Regions from separate parts of the Homo sapiens genome. Here region 1 is linked to region 2. Evidence: promoter capture Hi-C in human tissues and cell types (Jung and others, 2019). All regions are on one chromosome and are shown on one strand. The core of a region is centred on a gene start or on the middle of the fragment in contact, and the rest is flanking DNA. Distances in the headings are between cores, read along the strand shown. Region 1 holds the start of PHF20 (PHD finger protein 20). Region 2 holds the start of ITCH (itchy E3 ubiquitin protein ligase).

What was found. The method cuts DNA at HindIII sites, captures the fragments that hold promoters and counts their contacts. A contact is called where the count stands out against the background at its distance.
Region 1: a contact is called between the fragment with the promoter of PHF20 here and the fragment with the promoter of ITCH in region 2, in 1 of the 25 tissues and cell types used here (lymphoblastoid cells).

Annotation. Positions count from the first base shown.
Region 1 is chr20:35,769,477-35,775,365 of GRCh38, reverse strand. It overlaps PHF20 (PHD finger protein 20), which reads right to left and starts at 3,351. Exons shown (of 18, transcript NM_016436.5): 1 at 3,287-3,351. It also overlaps the pseudogene LOC124904972. RefSeq lists silencers at 1,605-1,899, 2,904-3,283. The HindIII fragment of the contact is 9,618 bases long and covers 1-4,393 here.
Region 2 is chr20:34,360,667-34,366,692 of GRCh38, reverse strand. ITCH (itchy E3 ubiquitin protein ligase) reads right to left here and starts at 3,420. Exons shown (of 25, transcript NM_031483.7): 1 at 3,344-3,420. RefSeq lists a silencer at 2,886-3,115. The HindIII fragment of the contact is 21,756 bases long and covers 1-6,026 here.

The DNA.
Region 1 (5,889 bases), core at 2,102-4,601, 1.4 Mb before region 2:
AGATAAAATAAAAAAATATAAGGCTAACCACCACCTTCCTATTTTCACAGAGAAACTTTGTCTTCGTGTATGAAACCTCACTACTAAAAGTGTAGTTCAGTAACATCAGCATCACCTGCAAATCAGAAATGCATTCAGGTCCCATCCTAGATCTACCAAATCAGAATCAGCATTTCAACAAGACCCCTGGGTGACTTACATGCACATTCAAGTTTGAGAAGCACTGGTGTAGAATACTTTAAGGGTGCACTGTACGGCAGTACACAGATAAAGTATCAAGCAGCCAAAGAAAGAGACAAAGTATCTGTTCACTTTCAGTATACTATATTTTATTAGGTACTGCTCAGACAGACCTCCAGTGATTTTTATAAATTTGGTACTTCCTAATGGCCACATCATCTAACTGTGGGATCTATTTCATTTCTGGAAATAACACAACTTAGTTCTAGGGCTTTCATGCACATGAAATATAAAACAGCTTAGTTGTTCTGAAAACATGACAATGGTTAATTTTATTCAAGTCCCAACACTGAGTTCAGAGCACTTCTCCATAGGCCCCATTAATCTCTCCAGGTTTCTGGGAGTATCATTAAATCCCTCGGCATCCTTAAGAAGCAGGTGCTTAGCAAACATCCAGTTTCCAAATGAGAGTCAGAGGGGCTTGATCCTGAAAGTGTAGTATTTTCCTGCCTTGTCCTACTGGTATAGCTTCTTGGACCTAAAATCTCTCTCCTGCTGAGGCCTCATGCAGCTGCACACTCAAGTACTTCCCAAAAGGAAGAAAGGTCAGAGGTATCATTATCCCCAAGCACTTGGAATTCCAGCTGTGGAGAAATTAATCTGGTTGGGGGTTCAGGCTGAGAAGCCCTGAATAAGATCTGTAAAGGCAGAAGGAAACACAAAAGAAAGAACTATTGAGGCTCTTAAGAGATAGGAGGTCCCAGATATTTGCAGATTTTAATGTGAGGATTGGGGGTAAAGATTGACAAGAGGTTGGCCGGGCTTGGTGGCTCACGCCTGTAATCCCAGCACTTTGGGAGGCGGAGGCGGGTGGATCACGAGGTCAGGAGATCGAGACCACAGTGAAACCCCGTCTCTACTAAAAACAAAAAAATTAGACGGGCGCGGTGTGGTGGGTGCCTGTAGTCCCAGCTGCTCGGGAGGCTGAGGCAGGAGAATGTCGTGAACCCGGGAGGCGGAGCTTGCACTGAGCCGAGATCGCGCCACTGCACTCCAGCCTGGGCGACAGAGCGAGACTCTGTCTCAAAAAAAAAAAAAGAAGATTGACAAGAGGATGATTGGGAGAGAAAAATATCCATTTCCCCACCGACACCCCAGGGACAAGAACAAAAAGAGTATCCAAGGGATTCCTCCAAACGACATCTTTTCTTCATAAAAGATAGTAAGAAAGCCAATATAGGGAAGAAGTTTATGGGCTAGAAGCAGTGCTGGAAAAATCTGAGAGTTTTGTTTGTTTTTGTTTTCCAGCACAAGGAGATAAAGCAAAGGAGAAAACAGTATGCACCTAAACAGAATCTTAGGTCTTCTAGAAGTAAACCACCAGGAGGATTCAGAGTCCTGTGATTAACCAAAGAAATGGTTTCCACTTTGAATCCAGCGCTGGGGGCCCAGGCAGTCCTAGACTTGAGGCCACCTCCAGCACAAGGAAAATCTTTATAGCCACTAGGTAAACAGAACAATTCCAAAGAAAGACAGAAACCAGAAAAATGTTTGGGGATTGGGCAAGCCAAGAGAGAAGAGATCCTGCTAGCGGAAAGATAAAAGATAGGCCTATCAAAAACAATGTGCTGGTAGCCCTTTAGGAGAGGAATCCTTCCCTGGGAGGAGAGGAGAATTCAGGAGGTGTGACTCTGGGAAGTGTGCTCAGAAGAAAAGCCCGCAGAAGCACAGAGAAAAGTGCCGTGCTGAACAAAGATACGCACTCGCCAGAGGAAGAGGAAATGGGTGCACTGACCAGACTGGGGAAAGCACCTCAAGGGGAGTGTGGCTCCAAAAAGGGAAGGAAACTGAGGAATGAAAATGTCTTGGATGACAGAAAAGCTAAACAGGGTAGGAAGGCATGCTCAAAACCACAGACCACTCGCCACCTGGAAATGAGAGGACTCACAAAAAGGTGTGCCCCCCAAATTTAAGAAGCATCTGGAAAGTGGCTGCACTCTGAGAGTTGTATAACTAAAAGGGGTTCACCTCGTACATTTGGGGGGCACAAGAAACAAATATACTCCCAGATATGAAAATGAGTCTCCTTCAGGAAATAAGGTAGTTTGATTTGGGGAACACGTGAAAAGTGTGTAACCCCAATAATACAGTCTCGGGAGAAGGCAGTGAATTCCCTTATTTGTGAAACTGGAAATAAGTACCCATAAACTTCAAAATTTGGACATTGTTTTCGGCCCAACCTCAGGTTTGAAGGGCTGAGGAAAGGAAGTGGCCCCTAAATGTAAGAAATTCCAGAAGGCATGCTGTCAGATTTGGGACCTGGAAAAGGGGAATTCTTCCTTGGAGTAGAGGGGATACAAGAAAGTATCCCAAAACTTTAGCTAATGGACCCCAGATCTGAGGACCCGATAACAGGGTGAACCTCTAAATTGGAACGGAAATGCAGAATCAAATTGGAGGCCCGAAAAAAGGAATGTGCTCCCACTTTGGGGGCTGACGGAAGAGGGTACGCCCTAAATTTGGGGGGGGGAGGGCTTTTAGAAATTTAGATAAAATTCCAGAGCTAGAGCTTAAGAAAGGGGGTGTGCCGCCCAGTTTTCAAAACTATAGAGAAAAGGGACACTCCCATATTTGGGGTCTTGAGAAAGGAATGTGCTCCCCAGAATAGGATAAAAAAAGCCAATTTTAAAAAACATATTCCCAAAGCGCAAGGCAATAGCAGAGGCTGCTGATGAGGCTCTAGGTGCCCACACAGCTCAGGCTCGGGCCCTAGGGCTTACCCGCACCCCCAACACGGCCCGCTCCGCGCCCCGGGCCCGCACCCCACGGCCCAGCCCCCTCGGGCGGCGCTGATTGGCGGCAGCCGCCGCCACTCTTGCGGGTAGCCCCGGGGATTGGGCACCGCTCGCACGCCCGCCACGCTCTCAGCAGCAGTCCCAGGGCCTCCCTCCAGGCTGGGCGAGCGGGGCCAGGCGGGGAGCGGGGCCGGGCAGGGGACCGAAGCAGCGGTGGCGTCCGTCGCCGTCCCCGCCCGCACGGCGCGCGCGCAGCGCGGGCCCGGCCCAACCCGGCCCGGCCGGCCGGCTTCGCCTGGCCGCGAGCTCACCTCACGGCCCCACTCCGGCTGCGCCGCTCCAGGACCAACCGACAGAAGGACTCTGCGTGCTCTGCACCACGTGACCCCCGGGACGCGCCCAGCGTATGCCCCGCCCCCCACACACACGCATCATCGCCACCACCGAGTGACGTAAGGTCCCAGCTGCCCCGCCCCCTGCCCCGTCTGCCCGATCACTGTGGCAACGGCCTGCGCAGGCCACGCCCACTACCCTGACGCGCGGGAAACAGGCCCGCGCCCTAGCAGGAACACGAAGTCCCCACTCACTCGTAATCACTGAGATCACCGAAGCCGGGGAATGGACGCTATCCATCACCCGTTAATTTTGCCACCTAAATGCGTCTCAAAGCTTCCCATTTCTCCATCGAAGCGACCACCATCTCTCTCCAAGATGAAGATGGTTTCCACCCTATTACTCTTCGCCGTTCTAATCCATTCTTCGTACACCGGCAGAGAGGTCTTTTCAAAACGCCATCCCCTGCTCAAAGCTCGTTTCCCTCCCTACTCCGGATTAAGATCTAACTCTTCACCTAGACTATCTACCAGGCTCTTCAAAGTCTGGACCTGACCTGCTGCTTTCTTATCCTCACGAATCCAGCTCCCCCACATTCTCAGTGTCCTTCAACTCCGCTAACAATCCAGGTTCTTCTCATCTCAGAGCCTTTGCACTCATTTCTCCCCCACTTTATCATTAACTCCTAGAAAGGTTTCCAATTGCTGCTAAGGATAAGGAGCTGTATTTTCTCTGGGGACGAAGGTCGGAGTTGAAGCCACCCCAAAAGAATATGAGACCAGGAGCAGTGGCTCACGCCTGTAATCCCAACACTATGAGAGGCTGAGGTGGGTAGATCACTTGAGCTCAGGAGTTCGAGACCAGCCTGGGCAACATAGCTAGACCCCCGTCTCTCCAAGAAATACAACAATTAGCCAGGCGTGAACGTGCGCACCTGTGGTCCCAGCTCAACCTTCTGAGTAGCTGGGACTGCAGGCCCATGCCACCATGCCTAGCTAATTTTTTTTTTTTTTTGAGACACGGTCTCACTGTGTCACCCAGGCTGGAGTGCAGTGGCGCAGTCTCGGCTCCTCATAACCTCCACCTCCTAGGCCCAAGCAATTCTCCCACCTCAGTCTCCCAGATAGCTGGAACCACAGGTGTGCACCTGGCTAATTTTTGCATTTTTTTGTAGAGACGCAGTTTCACGATGTTGCCCAGGCTGGTCTTGAATTCCTGGGCTCAAGCAGTCCACCCACCTCAGCCTCCCAGAGTGCTGGAATTAACACCGTACTTGGCCACTTTTTTTTTTTTTTTTTGAGATAGAGTCTCGCTCTGTAGCCCAGACGGGAGTGCAGTGGTGCGATCTTGGCTCACTGCAACCTCTGCCTCCCGGGTTCAAGCAATTCTTTGCCTCAGCCTCCCAAGTAGCTGGGATTACAGGCGCACGCCGCCACGCCCAGCTAATTTTTTATATTTTTTTTAGTAGAGACGGGTTTTCACCATCTTGGCCAGGCTGGTCTTGAACTCCTGACCTCATGATCCGCGCGCCTCGGCCTCCTAAAATACTGCGATTACAAGCGTGAGCCACCGTGCCCGGCCGAGTTTTTTTTTTTTTTTTTTTAGAGACAGGGTCTCACTTTGTTGACCAGGCTGGTCTCAAACTCCTTGGCTCAAGTGATCCTCCTGCCTCAGCCTCCAGAAATGCTGGAATTACAGGCCTCAGCCAGCAAATCCAGCCTGAGGGGTGCTTTTTAAACCAGGGCTGGAAACTAAGGAGGGTATTGCCTCAGTTGAGGTAGTCAGGGCAAAGAGCAGCCCTTAGGTAGAGACACTGTGGAACCAGGGACAAAAGCTTCAGCTACACTTGCTTGGGCAGTACATGTATTCTATTAAAATTGTAACATGGCTGGGCGCGGTGGCTCACGCATGTAATCCCAGCACTTTGGGAGGCCAAGACGGGCAGATTACCTGAGGTGAGGAGTTCGAGACCAGCCTGGCCAACATGGTGAAACCCTCTCTCTACTAAAAATGCAAAAATTAGCCAGGTGTGGTGGTGCATGCCTGTAGTCCCAGCTACTTGAGAGGCTGAGGCAGGAGAATGACTTGAACCCTGGAGGCAGAGGTTGCAGTGAGCCGAGATAGCACCACTGCACTCTAGCCTGGGTGATAGAGCAAGATTCCATCTCAAAAAATAATAATAAAATAAAATAAAATTGTAACAATACAGAAAAGATTCACATGACCCCTGCATAAGGATAAGCATGCAAATTCATGATACATTTCATACTTTTTAAAAAATCAGCAATTTGAGAATCAGTGCCACTCAGTCAAGTAAGTGCTCACATATAGGAAGGGCCTTCCCAAGATCCTCTGGGTTTATGTTTATTAATATGAAATTGCTCAGATGTCAGTGGCTATGGTAGCACACAAAGAACTTTTTGCCCCCCAACCACAATAATGCCAAGAACTCCAGACTCTGTAGCCCCGTATAAATATAGCATGTTTCTTTACTTATTCAACCTGCATTTACCGAGAGTCAAATTCAAGATGGGCACCAAACACTCAGAGCACAATGAGACTTAGGCCCTGCTCTCGAGGA
Region 2 (6,026 bases), core at 2,171-4,670:
ATATCACCATGTTGCCCAGGCTGGTCTCAAACTCCTGAGCTCAAGCGATTCACCCGCCTCAGCCTCCCAAACTGTTGAGATTACAGGTGTGAGGCACTGAGCCCAGCCCTGTATCTATTTCTACCAACATAAAATTCCAAATTTTTAGCATTATACTTAAAATTTTTAGCCAGAGCACAGTAGCTTACACCTGTAATCCCAACACTTTAGGAGGCCAAGGTGGGAGGACCACTTGAACACAGGAGTTAAGACCAGACTGGGCAACGTAAAGAGAACCTTTCTCTACAAAAAAATTTTAAAAATTAGCCAGGCATGCTAATGCATGCCTGTTGTCCCAGCTACTCAGGGAGGCTGGGGTGGGAAGATCACTTGAGCTCTGGAGGTCCTGTCACTGCACTCCATCCTGCGTGACTGGGTGAGACCCAGTCTCAACAACAAAAAATCACTTTTCATATACTTGCTTCCTTTAACCTTTCTGACCTTGCGTTTCAAAATGCTCTCCTTCCCCATTCCACTCCACACTCCCTGAACCCTTTTTGTTCCATAATCCTCTGAATTTACACACAGCATTAAGGCATTCACTCAGCCTACCCTGTCCTTCTCTTTCCCCGCCCTTTTCACACTCCTACTCTTCATGTAAGACCCAATGTGGGTTCAGGGGCAAATCTTGCCTCTTCTAACCAATCCTCCACCCAGCCACACACACAGAATTGGCCACTTCCTCTTTCGTCTCAAAGCTTTTTGACCTTTCCTTGGTAAGTCTACAGTACCATTTGCCCTCAGTGGTTCCCAAGACCATCAGAATTACCTAAGGCATGTGTTAAAAATAAATTGGTTGAAGCCAACCCAGACCTACTAAATCCATCTCAGAAGGTAAGACCCTGGAATTTCTAAGCTCTCCTAATTATTCTAATGGTCAAATTTGGGGACTACTGGTTTGTCTGCCTCTCCCAATAAGTGAAAAGATGTATTTTTTAGGGCCAGGAGTGGCGGCTCATGCCTGTAAACCCAGCACTTTGGGAGGCCAAGGCAGGTGGATCACGAGGTCAGGAGTTCGAGAGCAGCCTAGCCAATATGGTGAAAACCCATCTCTACTAAAAAATACAAAAAAATTACCGGGAGTGGTGGCACGCGCCTGTAGTCCCAGCTACTACGGAGGCTGAGGCAGAAGAATTGCTGGAACCCGGGAGGCGGAGGTTACAGTAAGCCGAGATCACACCACTGTACTCCAGCCTGGGTGACAAAGTTAGATTCCGTCTCAAACAAACGAAAAAGATGTATTTTTTTCTAAAGAATGTAGAAATGTTTGATTCTAGAATACACTGAAGAAGTAGTCTGTACTCATTTTTTTAATTTCATATGATATCCTTGGTGACTTGACCTGTATGCTGAATGTAATGGAATTCCTTTTGGACTCACAAAACTTAAATTCACAGTTCAAAGAAGCAGTAGAATTTCCACCTTCATTTCTAAATTTTTTTTTTTATTTTTTGAGACAGGGTCTCACTCTGTCACCCAGGCTGGAATGCAGTGGCAACGGTAACAGCTCACCGCAGCCTCGACCCCCCGGAATCAGGTGATTCCCCCACCTCAGCCTCCTGAGTATCTGGGACCACAGGCGCCTGCCACCACACCCGGCAAATCTTTGTATTTTTTGTAGAGACGGGGTTTCACGATGTTGCCCAGGCTGATCTCCAATTCCTGGGCTCACGTAATCCGCCCACCTCGGCCTCCCAAATTGCTGGGATTACAGGCGTGAGCCACCACACCCATCCCATTGCTTTTTTTTTTTTTTTTTTTTTGAGGCGGAGTCTCGCTCTGTCGCCCAGGCTGGAGTGCAGCAGCGAGATCTCGGCTCACTGCAGCCTCCACCTCCCGGGTTCAAGCCATTCTCCTGCCTCAGCCTCCCTAGTAGCTGGGACTACAGGCGCGCGCCACCACGCCCAGGATTTTTTTTTTTTTTTTTTTGTATTTTTAGTAGAGACGGGGTTTCACCATGTTGGTCAGGATGGTCTCGAACTCCTGACCTCATGATCTGCCCGCCTCGGCCTCCCAAAGTGCTAGGATTACAGGCGTGAGCCACACACAGCACCCGGCCCATTTCTTAATTTTAAAAATAAATCGTAGCTTAAATAAACCTGTAAATACACATAGCAAGCTCTCAGCAGATCTGCCATGAGAACTTCACCTCAACTGATAAACCATTCCTTAGCCGATTTTGAGAATGGAAATACACTGCCTTTACATACTTCCTGAAGATCGAATTCTATCAGGAAAAGATGCAGGAGAACCCACCTAAGTGGGTGGCTGGCTCCAGGGTCTTACTAATTTTCAAGGCAAAAATCCCACAATTCCCCATCCCCCACTCCAAACCAAGTATACTGTAGCTGTGGAAGAATGGCAGAAAATGTAATAAGATTAGGATACGAATACAACCAAGAAAACAAGGTTGCGTTGTTATTGGGGATAATGAATTCCTGGCCCTTTACAAGTTCACCTGGTTACATGTCCAACTAACTTTAGGCCCAGCGTCTACTTCGGGCGCACAAATTCTGCGATTCTCTTTTCTGTCGCGGACGGGAACTGTCTTGGAAAACTTGAGTTCTCCACTTAAAAGTCATGTCATCATGCTTCGACCCTTAGAATACGTTCAACGGCTACTTTTTTCTTTTCTCTGCTAAAGAAAAGGGCACTCTCCGGAGGAAGGGCAGTGACAGCTCCACGTCTGCAAAAGTCGGCGCCGCCACGACGGTGGCGGACGTCGGGGAGGGCGCCGGAGCCGGGACCACCACGCCGGGGGGACAATGGAAGGAGGAGGCGAGTGGGAGAGAGAAGGGGAGGCAGCCGCTGTGCTGGGCCCTTCTAGCGACTGGGGGCTCGGAAAAGTCTCGAGAAGGCCAGCTGGGTGGCGGGGGACCCGGCCGCCGCCCCTCACAGGGCCACGTCGCCCGCGCCGGCCCCGCCGCCGGGCCCCGCGCGTAGGCCGAACCGCTGGAGAGTGGCCCCAGGCGGGGCTGAGGGGCGAGGGGCCGGACGGTACCCACGCCCGTCGTGGCCCAGCCCTTTCACAACTTGGAGCCCGCGAGGCGAAGGCCTCCGGAAGCCTGTGCCAGACACTGATCCCTCCGAACGTCCAGACAGCCCACCCCCACCGCCCGGCCCGGGCCAGTAGCCCGAGCTCCCCGCGCCCCCGACAGACACCGGCTCTGGAAGAAGGAGCAGCCGCGGCTCTGGGGTCCCGAACCGCGCGTCCCACTCCTCTACCCTTGTTCTCCCCGAACATTCTCATCCGGACTCCCTCCCTCTCCCGAGAACTGCCCCGAGTTCGCCCACGGGGGTTTACCGGGACTCGGGGCGGCGGCGACTCCTCAGTCCCTAGACTAAGATGGCAGCCGGTCCCGAGCCCCGACCACAGCTACTAGAGCGAGTTAGCAGCTAAAGCGCAGGCGCCTGAGCGCGGAAGTGGTCTAGACTACAAGCCCCAGCAGGCCTTGCGCGCCAGCCGTCCGGCCCGCCCCTGGCTTGAAGAGCTGGCTGCGGTGGTAAATCAGTTAAATCCCAGTTTTCCTCAGCTCCAGGTGAGATGGGCGCGAGCGGCTCCCAGCACCTCCAGGCTTTTTTTTTTTTTTAACACCCCGCCCACCAGAGCCTATAAGGACTGTGATTCTCAAACTATGGTGTGCATCAGAATCACCTAGAGAGCTTATTAAAACTTACACTGCTGACCCCCACCCCCAGAGTTTCTGATCAGAAGATCTGGCATAGGAGGATAGGGTCTGATAATTTGCATGTCCAACAAGCTGTCTAGTGATACTGCTAGTGAGTGAAATCATAATTTGAGAACCAATGGGCTATATAGCTTAGTTTATAACTTAGTTGTTCTTTTTTCTTTTTCTTTTCCTTTTCTTTTTTTTTCTTCTTTTTGAGATAAGGTCTCACCCTTCACCCAGGCTGGAGTGCAGTGGTGCAGTCATAGCTCACTACAGCCTCACACTCCTGGGCTCAAGCGAGCCTCCCACCTGGGCTTCCTGAGTAGCTGGGACAGCAGTTGAGCACCACCACACCCGACTAATTTTGTTCTATTCTTTGTAGAGATGGGGATGGGGTGGAGTGCGGATGGGATGGGGCGGGAATAGGGCCACGGTGTCGCCATGTTGCCCAGGCTGGTCTCCAGCTCCTGGGCTCAAGCGATACTCCCTCCTCGGGCCTCCCAATCGCTGAGATTACAGATGTGAGCCACTGCACCTGGCCTGGCTTAGCCTTTAACAATGTACATTAAAGGGCGTGGTTAAAAAGAAAATAAAAGAAAAAAAATGTACACTTGAGAGTTACACTGACCGGATTCAAATCCTCCCTTTTCTACCTTTTAACTGGGTGCCCTTAGGGATGATGACAACAGCTTAGTGGAGCCAACGTGGCCTGTCCGGTATTCTAAGAGCTGATACCAAGCTCCCTTTATTCTCACAACAAACCTATTACAGAAATACCATTATTATCCCCATTTTACAAATATATAAACTAAGTCACATACTTGATAAGAACCCAGGCAGTCTGGCGTGAAAGTCCGTTGTCTTAACCTTCTTCATGGATTGCTTGTGAGAAATAATAGGCTATGCAGGCAGAGACTCAGAGGTATGACTAAGTGCTCAATACTTAGTGACCTTTGCTATTACTGTTTAGCCTGTTTCCTCCTAATGAAAATAGTATTTTGCCATCTGGAAAGTCACATTTTTCAAAGTGACTTTTTTTTTTTTTTTTTTTTTGAGACAGAGTCTTGCTCTGTCACCCAACCTGGAGTGCAGCGGTGCAATCATAGCTCACTGCAGCCAACCTCCTGGGCTCAAGTGATCCTCTCACCTCAGCTTCCTGAGTAGCTGGGACTCCAGGCTCAAGCCACCACACTATCCTAATTGTTTTTATTTTTGTAGAGACGTGGACTCCCTGTGTTGCCCAGGCTGTTCTCAGACTCCTAGGCTTGGCTAGGGTCAGTGGCTTACACCTGTAATCCCAGGAGTTAGGGAGGCCAAGGCAGGCAAATCACTTGAGGTCAGGAGTTTGAGACCAGTCTGGCCAACATGGTGAAACCCCGTCTCTTTTTTTTTTTTTTTTTTTTTTTGAGACAGAGTATTGCTCTGTCGCCCAGGCTGGAGTGCAGTGGCGCAATCTTGGCTCACTGCAACCTCCGCTCGCCTCCTGGGTTCAAGTGATTCTCCTGTCTCAGCCTCCTAAGTAGCTGGGACTACAAGCGCATGCCATCACGCCTGGCTAATTTTTGTATTTTTAGTAGAGTTGGGTGAGCCACCACGCCTAGCCTTGTGAAACCCCTTCCCTACTAAAAACACAAAAATTAGCCAGGTGTGGTGGCGGGTGCCTGTAATCCCAGCTACTTGGGAGGCTGAAGCACGATAATTGATTGAACCCAGGAGGGGGAGGTTGCAGTGACCCAAGATCACGCCATTGCACTCCAGCCTGGGCGACTCAGCGAGACTCTGTCTCAAAAAACAAACAACAAAAGAAACATAAAGGCTGGGCGCAGTAGCTCACTCCTATAATCCCAGCACTTCGGGAGGCTGAGGCGGGTGGATCACCTGAGGTCAGGAGTTTGAGACCAGCCTGGCCAACATGGTGAAATCTTGTCTCTACTAAAAATGCAAAAATTTGTTGGGCATGGTTTGGGAGGCCGAGGCGGATGGATCAACTGAGGTCAGGAGTTCAAGACCAGCCTGGCTAACATGGTGAAACCCCATCTCTACTAAAAATGCAAAAATTAGACCGGGCACGGTGGCTCACGCCTATAATCCCAGCACTTTGGGAGGCCAAGGCGGGCGGATCACGAGATCAGGAGTTCAAGACCAGCCTGGCTATCATGGTGAAACCCTATCTCTACTAAAAATACAAAAATTAGCCGGGCGTGGTGGCGGGTGCCTGTAATCCCAGCTAGTCAGGAGGCTGAGGCAGAGAATTGCTTGGACCTGGGAGGCGGAGGTTGCAGTGAGCCAAGATCGTGCTACTGCACTCCATCCTGG